Regions from separate parts of the Homo sapiens genome. Here regions 1 and 3 are each linked to region 2. Evidence: promoter capture Hi-C in human tissues and cell types (Jung and others, 2019). All regions are on one chromosome and are shown on one strand. The core of a region is centred on a gene start or on the middle of the fragment in contact, and the rest is flanking DNA. Distances in the headings are between cores, read along the strand shown.

Region 1 (3,731 bases), core at 99-2,598, 510 kb before region 2:
CTTCTGAGTAGCTGGGATTACAGGTGCCCGCCACCATGCCTGGCTAATTTTTTGTATTTTCAGTAGAGACGGGGTTTCACCATGTTGACCAGGCTGGTCTTGAACTCCTGACCTCAGGTGATCCACCTGGCTCGGCCTCCCAAAGTGCTGGGATTACAGGCATGAGCCACCATGCCCAGCCAGTTCTCTGATCTTGTCCTCCAGTTTTTATGTGTAACTGAGGCTGAGCTCTCAAGTTCAAATGGTCTTTGAATAAAGCTAAATGCAGGCCGGGTGCGGTGGCTTATGCCTGTAATCCCAGCACTTTGGGCGGCCAAGGCAGGCGGATCACAAGGTCAGGAGTTCGAGGTTATCCTGGCCAACATAGTGAAACCCCGTCTCTACTAAAAATACAAAAGATTAGCCGGGCGTGGTGGCAGGCACCTGTAATCCCAGCTACTCGGGAGGCTGGGGCAGGAGAATGGCTTGAACCCGGGAGGTGGAGGTTGCAGTGAGTTGAGATCCTGCCATGGCACTCCAGCCCGGGTGACAGTGCGAGACTCTGTCTTTAAAAACAAAAAAAAAAGAATTGCTAAATGCAGTATTCTTTGGTGTTCGCTGTGGGAAATGTGTTCTGATGAGAGGGAGGCAATCCATAATGTGCCCCTTTGTATGCAGGGTGGGCAAAACACTGCTTCCAACTAGTTACGTCTAAGATACTAGGTTATCCCACTGGTTACCAAACAACTCAACTATGGTTTGCTGCCTTCCATAGCTGGCCCTGTCCTTAAATCCCAACATCGTCTGAAAATAATATAGAAGCTTTTGAGACTGTCTTGTTTCTACCCACTCACATTCCAGTTATGGGACCAGGCGGGCGTGGGAGAAGAAACGGGATCGTCAAAGTGGGACTGTTCCGTGTGGCATGATGGCAATTTCAAGCAAGGAATGTTGCTGAATGCTCAGAGCCTGCCCCAGGACCAAAAGCTTTTCATGAACTTGGGTTTCATTTGTATTTGAACATCAGTCATCTCTCTTGGGGTCCTCTCTTGAAAGCTACTTTTGCCCAGTAGGCTAGAAAGTGGGGCACCGTAGGTTTAATAGCAGCATGCAGGGATGACAGAGTATTAAAAACACTTTTTAAAAGTCATTCTTACTAGTTTTTGTCATGAAAAAAAAAAGAATTCATTCTAATTGTAACAGGCCAAGTAATACAAGGATATATAAGGAAAATATGTTGTTGTTGTTTTCAAACTGCCTCCTGGCCAGGCACAATACTTGTATCTGTAATCCCAGCACTTTGGGAGGCTGAGGTTGGTGGATCGCTTGAGGCCAGGAGTTCAAGACCAGCCTGGGCAACGTGGCAAAACCCCATCTAGTCCTGTAAACATAAAATTACATTTTTTGCTGAAATACAAAAAATACAAAAATTAGCTGGGTGTGGCAGCACATGCTTAAAATAGAGCATGGCACATTAATATTCTACACATGTTTAAAATACTAATAAAATAGGCCAAGCATGATGGCTCATGCCTGTAATCCCAGAACTTTGGGAGGCTGAGGCAGGTGGATCACCTGAGGTCAGAAGTTCATGACCAGGCTTGGCATCATAGCGAGACCCTGTCCCTACAAACAATAATTAAAAATTTGCTGCGGTGGAGTACACCTGTAGTCTCAGCTACTCTGGAGGATGAGGTGGGAGGATGGTTTGAGCCCAGGAAGCTGAGGCTGCGGTGAGCTAGCGTTTGTGCCACTGCACTTTAGCCTGGGTGACAGAGTAAAACCCTTTCTCAAAAAATTAAAATGAGGCTGGGCTCAGTCATTCACTTCTGTAATCCCAGCACTTTGGGAGGCCAAAGCGGGAAGATGGCTTGAGCCCAGGAGTTTGTGAGCAGCCTGGGCAACGTAGTCAGACCCCATCTCTACAATAAATAAAATTAGCCAGGCATGGTGGCATGTACCTGTAGCCCCAGCTACTCAGGAGGCTGAAGCAGGAGGATTGCTTGAGCCCCGAAAGCCAAGGCTGCAGTGAGCAGTGTTTGCACCACTGCATTCCACCCTAGGTGACAGAGACCTGTCTCAAAAAGCACACAAATAAAATTAAATAAAATCTGAATAAAATAGTTCATAAAAGCTAATTGAAGCTTAGTTGAGGCTGCAGTTTTTGATGATGGTGATGATATTGTAATGAAAAGACTTTCCCAGCTGGGCACAGTGGCTCACACCTATAATCCCAGCAGTTTGGGAGGCAGAGGCGGGCAGATCACTTGAGGTCAGGAGTTCGAGACCAGCCTGGCCAACATGGTGAAACCTTGTCTCTACTAAAAATACAAAAATTAGCTGGGCGTGGTGGTGTGCACCTGTAATCCCCGCTACTCGGGAGGCTGAAGCAGGAGAATTGCTTGAATCTGGGAGGCAGAGGTTGCAGTGAGCCCAGATTGCACCATTGCACTCCAGCCTGGGTGACAGAGTGACACTCTGTCTCAAAAAAAAAAAAGACTTTCCCACATGGAGATGGCCAGTAGTGGGGAGTGGGGTCTTAGCTTCTTTTGTTGGGATTTGGTTTTTACACCAAGTCACCAAATAAGTTTATGAAAGGTGGGCATACTGGGTTAAAGAACACTTAGACCCTTGTTAGCTTTATTTTTGTTAGCTTTTTTTATGGGCATGTTGAAATATACCCAGTCCCCGTATTCTGATCCTCCAGTTTCAACATTTTGCCATTCTTCTTTCCTCCCACTTGCTGGGCTCAGAGACAACCCAGCCCTTGCCAGCGTGACAGTGAGCTTCCCAGAGCCTTTCTGGAGCTGAAGAACCTTTCAATCTTTCCTACAATTTCCTATAATCAGCCCAGGGGATCAGGTTGCATGGGGAGATAATGAGTCTTATGAGCACCTGGAATTCAGGTTGGGGCTCCTCGTCATACTGTCACTTCTCAAAGGGTAGGGCTTAACCACCATTAAGATGAGGTGCCCCAAAGCAGGTTAAGTGCCTTGGATCAAGTTATTTGCAAAACCATTTTCATTTTTTCAGGCCGCCACCCTTGGCAAGTCCAATCATGCTTGTCTCAACTTTCACTGTCTAAATTTGGGAAGGCTGGAGAAAGGAATTCAGTGCAGCCTTCATTCCCTGTTTACATGACAAGCCCCTAAAGATGACCTAGTTGCCCCATTACTTCTGCTGGGGGTGGGGGAGGACTCTTTGAAGAGCATCTGGTTTTGCTAGTTTGAAAAGAAATTCCTATTTTAGACTTAAAAGGATGGTATCTGCCCATCCTTTAAGGACTTGGCATTTCTTCTTGATTCTTTCATCATCTTATGGCTCAGCTGTTCAGTTAACAAACACTTGTCTACCCAAATACACAGGAATAATAGTCATCTCTTCTACTTTCATTGCTTTTTAACTTAGAAAATGTCATCCCATTCACTGTCTTGGTCTTCACAAAACCCTAAAGAGGTAGACTCAAACAGTGGTGATAACCTTTATGTTATAGTAGAGAAGGCCAAGGCCCATAGAGGTTTAGCAATTTGCTAAGGCCACCCAGCAAGAACATGGCAGAATCTGGTTTTATAATCCAGTCGCAGACCCTGGGTCCAGCCCTTTTTCCTTGTCTCTGTCTTCCCATCATTTATTACGGCTCCCCCTGCTCACCCCATCCTTTCCTTCAAGTTGCGGAAGTGAGTTGTAGACCCAGTCTAAGGGCTGAGAAGGTAGGGGTTGGGGCATGGTGGTGATTTTTTATTTTTATTTTT
Region 2 (3,543 bases), core at 201-2,700:
CAGGGTTTCACCATGTTGGCCAGGCTGGTCTTGAACTCCTGACCTCAAGTGATCCACCTGCCTCGGCCTCCCAAAGTACTGGGATTATAGGCGTGAGCCACCGCGCCCGGCCTCTCCTTTGTATTTAATTAGCATTTTGTGAAGAGAGATTAAGGTGTGCCAATTTTTTGGTTTTTTTTTTTTTTTTTTTTTTTTTTTTTTTTTTTTTTTTTTGGAGGCAGGGTCTTGCTTCATTTCCCAGGGTGGAGTACAATGGCCTGGTCACGGCTCACTACAGCCTCGACCTCCCAGGCTCCAGCAATTCTCCCAACTCAGCTTACGGAGTAGCTGGGACTACAGGTGTGCGCCACCATGCCCAGATACGTTTTTTATTTTTTGTAGCGATGGGGGTTCACCTGTTGCCGAGGCTGTTCTCGAATTCCTCGGCCCAAGCAATCGGCCTGCCTCGGCTTCCCAAAGTGTTGGGATTACAGGCATGAGCCCCCATACCCAGCCTCAACTTGGATGTTTTTTGCCCTCCATTTTTTTTCTCTCACAGGATAGACTTGTGGACAAATGGATCACTTGCCTCTGGTGCGTTTTTTTGTTTGTTTGTTTTGTTTTGTTTCTTAATTTAGCGACGAGGTCTTACTATGTTGCCCAAGCTGGTCTTGATCCTCGGCTCAAGCAATCCTCCTGCCTTGGCCTCCCAAAGTGCTGGAATTACAGGCGTGGGCCAGTACACCCAGCCCTAGAACTGCTTTGATCATTGTATCCCCAGAAACTAGCACACAACGCTGCACACAGTAGGTGTGCATGCCTGTAATCCCAGCTACTCGGGAGGCTGAAGCAGGAGAATCGCTTGAACCCGGGAGGCGGAGGTCGCAATGAGCCGAGATCATGCCACTGCACTCCAGCCTAGGCGACAGAGCAAGACTCCGTATCAATCAATCAGTCAATCAATCCAAGCAAAACAAAACTGGCTTTGAACAGTCAGCGGCATCCCACCAGGGATTGAGCCCCAGTGTGGGGCACACTCTGTTTACATTAGCTAGCTCATTTATTCCCCACAAAAGCCAGACAAGGCAGGTACTAATTATGATCGTGCGATATTAAACATGGAGAAACCAACGCTCTGATAAGTTCGTTTTATTGTGAGAATAAAACTGCTCAATGGGCGCTGTTATTCCAAGCGAGGTCAGGATTTCCGGATTCTACCCCGCTCCGCCCCTGGCCCCGCCCCGAGAATGTACGTCCCGCCAGGCCCCGCCCCGGCCTTGTCCCACCCACCCCGTCCCCGCCCCCTGTCCGTCTCGCCCTAGTCCCACCTCCTCGTCCCCAGTCAGTCCTGCCTCTCGAACCGCCCCCTGCCTTCGCCGAGGCAGGGAGAGGTGCCTGCAGTGCGAGCCGTGGACGCTAGGGGGCAGCCGCTCGGCTCGGGCCCGACCGCTCTGGGCTGCGCTCCTCGCTTGCCCTCGGACTCGGCTCCCGCTGCGAGCGGCCGCCCTGCCCGCGCACCGCGCTCAGCGCCCACCGCCGGGCTTCCCGCGCCGGACCCAGTACCTCGGCTCCCCGGGGCCGGACCGAGGCCGCAAGCAGCGCCGCGGGGTGTGGGGCGGACCCAGGAGATGAAATGACAACGTCAACCCTCCAGGTACTTCGTGCGGCCCGGCCCGACTTCGGAGGCCGAAGGCAGCGGGGCCTGCGGGCCGCAGAGCCGGGCGGCGGGCGGGTGGTCAGGTGGGCGCCTCCCAGCCCCGGCCTCGCGACCCCGCTCCGGCCGCCCCCTCGCCGCTTCCGCCCGTGTCTGTTTCCACGCGCTCGGAGCCGGGTGGCATCTCCACCCTCAGGCCTTCCGGCCCTGCCCGGCTGGCCCAGCCCCAGGGCCGCTTCGTGTAGCCGGCGCCCCGGTACCGCCGTGGGGATCAGCCTCACCCGAGCCGCACAGGCACCCTCAGGAAGCTCGGCCCGGGGTCCGGCTGGGCGTTCAGACAGCGATGCTCGCTCCCTCCTCTCCTGTCTCGCTCCCTCCTCTCCTGTCCCGGGTCCTGGAAGTCCCTCGACCTCACTTCGAACAAGCCCCGGCCCCTTCCCCAATCTTCGACTTCCTCTTCTCGGCCAGCGACCCTTCATTCATTCCCTAGATCCTGCAGGGTGGTGCTGGGATGGCGCCACCTGGGTGAACAACTGACCCACCCTCTAGGTGCTGTCAGTCCTGCGGGGCCAGAAGAGATCAACATGCTCAGGCCTCATTCCGGGGTTTGAATCTCAGCTCTGCCACTCACCAGCAAGTGACCTTGGGCTAGTTTTTTTTTTTCATCTTCGGGTCTCGAGTTTCCTGGTCTGTAAAATGGGGTAATGCCCTCTAGGTTGTTGTGATGATAGCTTTAAATTGAATAATTACGGTAAAGCATTCTTGTATGTCTGGCACATAGTAGGTGTCCATTAAGTGACAGCCAACAAAGTGCCTGGGAGAGTTAGGCAAGACTTCATGGAAGAAGGGACATCAGAGTTCCAGTAGCATTCAGAGACCTGGAGGTGGAGGAGGGCAGAAGTAGGAGCAGACATGGAATGAGTTGGGGTACCAGGTTAGGAATTAAGAGTCCATAGCCAGATCCCACCGTACCACCAGCAGAAGCCGCAGATCCCGTCTGCCCAGGCAGGTTTTTTATGGCCCGTGAACCGAGAATGTTTTTCAGTTTCAAACACAGGTGTATTTATTTATTTTTAAATTTTATTTATTTATTTTTTTGAGATGGAGTCTCACTCTGTCACCCAGACTGGAGTGCAGTGGTGTGATCTTGGCTCACTGCAGCCTCTGCCTCTCAGGTTCAAGCGATTCTCCTGCCTCAGCCTCCTGAGTAGCTGGGATTACGGGCACCCGCAACCACGCCCGGCTAATTTTTGTATTTTTAGTAGAGACCGGGTTTCACCGTGTTGGCCAGGCTGGTCTCGAACTCCCGACCTCAGATGATCTGCCCACTTCGGCCTCCCAGAGTGCTGGGATTACAGGTGTGAGCCACGGGTCTGGCCTAAACACAGCTTTATTAAGGTATAACTTGCGTGCTTACCATATAACTCACCCGTTATATATTTTTGTTTTTATTAATTTTTTTTTTTGAGACAGTCTCATTCTGTCACCCAGGCTGGAGTGCAGTGGCACAATCTCAACTCATTGCGGCCTCCGCCTCCTGGGTTCAAGTGATTCTCCTGCCTCAGCCTCCCAAGTAGCTGGGATTACAGGCACCTCCCATCACACCCAGCTAATATTTTTTTGTATTTTTAGTAGAGACGGGGTTTCACCATGTTGGCCAGGCTGGTTTCGAACTCCTGACTTCAAGTGTGATCTGCCCACCTCGGCCGCCCAAAGTGCTGGGATTACAGATGTGAGCCACTGTGCCCAGCGCAACTCACCCATTTAAAGTGTATAATTCAGTGCTTTTAGTATATTCATGGTTGTGTGACCATCACCATAATCACTTTTTAGAATATTTTCATCACCTCCAAAAGAAACCCCTCACCCACAACCCCTCTCTCTCCCAGCCCTGGGCAACCACTGCTAAT
Region 3 (3,688 bases), core at 168-2,667, 760 kb before region 2:
GGCTTTCAAGTCAAGGGAAAAGGCGGAACACAGGCACCAGGGAGGAAGTAGGTTTAGTGTCTTCCAGGAATCAGAAGGAGGGTGGGGTGGGTGCAGGCGAGAGCTGCAGGCAGGGGAGGAGGCTTGAGGTGAAGTCAGGGAGCTAGCTGGCACCCAGATTGTGAAGTGCCTATAGGCGGCCATAAAGACTTTGACTTTACTTGAAATGAATCGGTGCCATTGGAGGCCTTGAAACAGAGGTGACTTGATCTGGCAGATTTTTGTTTTGTTTTGTTTTTCTTTGAGACAGGGTCTTGCACTGTCACCCGGGCTAGAATGAAGTGGTGTCATCGTGGCTCACTGTAGCCTTGAACTCCCGGGCTCAAGCAGTCCTCCTGCCTCAGCCCTCCAAGTAGCTAGGACCATAGATGCAAGCCACCATGCCCAGCTAATTTTAAAAAATTTGTTTGTGTTAGAGATGGGGTCTCACTGTGTTGCCCAGGCTGGTCTGGAACTCCTGGCCTCTAGTGATCTTCCCACCTCAGCCTCCCAAAGTGCTAGGATCACAGGTGTGAGCCACCATGCCCAGCAGTCTGGCAGATTTTAACAAGATCTCTCTGGTTGTAATGTGGAAAATGGACTTGGGTGGTGGGGCAAGAGTGAGAGGAGAGATGAACTAGGAGGTTGTAGCAGTAGTTCAGGTAAGAGATGGTGACACGAACTAGGGTGAGGGTGACAGAAATAGGGAAAAGTGGGAGACAGTGAAGGGTTTATGGGTTGTGTTTTGTTTTGTTTTTTTTTTTTTTGAGATGGAGTCTCGCTCTGTTGCCCCGGCTGGAGTGCAGTGGTGGTGTCTCGGCTCATTGCAGTTTCCACCTCCCGGGTTCAAGTGATTCTCCTGCCTCATCCTCCCGAGTAGATGGGATTACAGGCGCCCGTCACCACGCCTGGCTAATTTTTGTATTTTTAGTAGAGACGGTTTCATTCCGCTTTCCCAAAGAGTTTGCCACGTTGGCCATGCTGGTCTTGAACTCCTGACCTCAGGTGATCCACCCGCCTCAGCCCCCTAAAGTGCTGGGATTACAGGCATGAGCCACTCAGCCTGGCTGCAGTGAAGTGTTTGTGAACATGATCAAATTTGTGTTTTGAAGTAACTCTGATAGTGCCCAGGGGAGAAAAAGGGGATTGGGATCAAGAGTTAAAGAACAGAGGCCAGTGGTTGCCCTGTCAAGGCAAGAAGTTATGAGTGGCTTGGAGCAGACGTTTGCTTGCTGGTTAGCACATTCTTCACCTTGAGTGCAGACTCTTTGGGAAAGCAGAATGAAACCAGGAGGCCGGCCAGGCTCAGAGGCTCACACTTGTAATCTCAGCACTTTAGGAGGCCGAGGTGGGAGGATCACTTGAGCCCAGGAGTTTGAGACCAGCCTGGGCAACATAGTGAGACCCCATCTCTATTAAACAAAATAAAACAAAATAAACCAGGAGGCCATATGTTAAATATGAGGAACCAGTTAAGCAAAGGAGTCCTGGTTGGGCAATGACTATTACTAAACCGAAGAGACAATATGTCTAGAGGGTAGAGTAGGCAGTGGGGAGAAGGTTTTACTTCTCACCACTTATCTCAAAATGGCTGGTCCAACCCCTTTATCCTTGCTGGCCATGCCTCTCCCAAGACCAGCCTCCCTTCTCAAGCTTCCCAGTCCCTGGATTGGATTCCCACATTTTCTTCTTCCATGCAGGTGGCACTTACCTCTTAGGACCTGGTACAGAGCCTACCTTGAAGTGTTCTCTCCCTCTCCCAATCTTTTGTGCTTTGAGCGCCTGCAGCACCTCACCTTACTGTGTATTGTCTCATATTGTGCTCTAATAAATAACGCTTTTAAAATAAACTGAACCGTATTCAAGGACTGCAGTGTTTTTCTTTTGCATTTTTAGTCTGCCACAGTGTATATAGTAAATCCAGGCACCTTGTAAATATCTAGTCTGTCAAATCTCTAACCTTGATCAGAAAAATGGCCCCAGTTTCATCCCTCCCCTGTTCCTGCAGGGACACAGCCAAGTGTTGAACAGAAATATGGGGCAGAGGAGCCAGTATGGTGTGTGGATGTGGTCATGCACCTCACTCAGTAGAAGGGGCCACTCCTGCCTTCTTTAATATTCAAATGTCATCCATCTCCTTAAGGCTCAACTCATTCAGGAAACAGAGATATAGTGTGAGTCAGGTACTTGCTGGACAATGGTGTTGTAGAATTTCAAAAACAACCAAAAGTATTATCCCTGCCCTCATAATGTGTACCATTTAACTAGGAAAACAAGCATTAAATAGATGAGTAGGTTTGTTTGAATAATGGTAGGTGTGCAGAGTGGTTTAAAGCACATGATAGGGAGGTTGACTCTCCAGTGGGGGATCAGAAGACTTCACTGGAGATCTGCTAACTGGCACCTGAAGTATGAAATGGAATTAGCTAAGGGAAATGGGAGGACAGAATGATACTCTTGAGGAATTTGAGTGAATCGGTTCAGCTATACCTAAGCAAACAAGAGAAGGGTACAGAATAAGCTGAAGCCTCTGTGAAACCTTCCCTCACTGCTCCAGCTAACTCAGCTCTGCTTTCGATGTCTTTTTGCACTAATTGTCTTTGCCATACTTTATTATATACTTTCTGAGACAGAAGTCTAACCAGGAATTAGCTAGATATGGTGGCATATGCCTGTAGTCCCAGCTACTCTGGAGGCTAAGGTGGGAGGATTACTTGAGCTCAGGCAGTTGAGGCTGCAGTGATTCATGATTGAGCCACTGGACTCCAAGCTGGGTGAGAGAGTGAGATCCTGTCTCCAAAAAAAAAGCCTAACCAAAAGTACATAGCTCAAGGAGGCCATGGTCACAGGTGACTCATGGTTTAACAAAGCCAAGTGATTCTAGACAATCAGCTCTCTAGCATCAGAGCTGACAATTGGGAGGCATGGGGCACCTCAGCCAGCCAGCCAGCCATGTGTCCATGGGATGGTAGAGGAAAAAGTGATTAGAGTAGGGTATGAGGCAGTGAAAGACCTTTGACCTAGCCGTTGTAATTTTAGCTAGCGAGCCAGGAGAAATCCTAGCATGTTTGCCCAAAGAATATTTATTACAGTAATGTTTACAATAGCAGAATACTGGAAATAATCACAGTACCTGCTGACAGGGACTGGTTCATTGATTCATTCAGCAAGTATTTTTTAAGTGCCCACTAGGTGCCGGGCGTTGTTCTGGGCACCAGGCATGTAACTGATCAAGATAAAGTCCCTGTTCCCATGGAACTTACAGTGGAGAGACAGACAATAGGGTAACAAGCTAATATCTCCGATCATTGCTAGAAACACAAGTGTCCTTTTTCTCGGAATCTGTTCTTGAGTTCAGGTGAAAAGAACTGGGCAGTGAGAGATAGCTGGACTAGCAGGAAAATTAAACACAAAATGCGATGGATAGTGGAGGTGCTAAGACAGCCTTCCCGAGGAGGCCATGCTTGAGATGATGCCTGAATAACTGGTTAACTAGTTGTCAACCATGTGGACATGCAGGAGGCTAGGGAATAACAAAAGGGCTGGGAACAAGTTTGATGTAGTCAAGGAACATCAAGATCAGCATGCGACAGCCTGGTGAGCCATGAGGGAATTGCATTTTACTCTCTTTTTTTGAGACAGTCTCACTCCGTCATCCAGGCTGGAGTAC

The links. Contacts are between HindIII fragments. The study calls those that stand out against the background at their distance.
Region 1: a fragment that was not itself captured here is called in contact with the fragment with the promoter of VPS4A in region 2 in 1 of the 25 tissues and cell types used here (hippocampus).
Region 3: a contact is called between a fragment that was not itself captured here and the fragment with the promoter of VPS4A in region 2, in 1 of the 25 tissues and cell types used here (dorsolateral prefrontal cortex).

Annotation. Positions count from the first base shown.
Region 1 is chr16:68,795,615-68,799,345 of GRCh38, forward strand. All of the region lies in intron 2 of CDH1 (cadherin 1), which reads left to right. Among named protein-coding and RNA genes, the nearest start is that of TANGO6, 46 kb to the right of the region's middle. RefSeq lists enhancers at 1-91, 92-592. The HindIII fragment of the contact is 4,503 bases long and covers 1-3,600 here.
Region 2 is chr16:69,309,900-69,313,442 of GRCh38, forward strand. It overlaps VPS4A (vacuolar protein sorting 4 homolog A), which reads left to right and starts at 1,451. Exons shown (of 11, transcript NM_013245.3): 1 at 1,451-1,633. The coding sequence starts at 1,613. RefSeq lists enhancers at 323-1,273, 1,274-2,223 and silencers at 1,166-1,305, 1,366-1,915. The HindIII fragment of the contact is 10,929 bases long and covers 1-3,543 here.
Region 3 is chr16:68,553,355-68,557,042 of GRCh38, forward strand. All of the region lies in intron 2 of ZFP90 (ZFP90 zinc finger protein), which reads left to right. Among named protein-coding and RNA genes, the nearest start is that of ZFP90, 16 kb to the left of the region's middle. The HindIII fragment of the contact is 9,782 bases long and covers 1-3,688 here.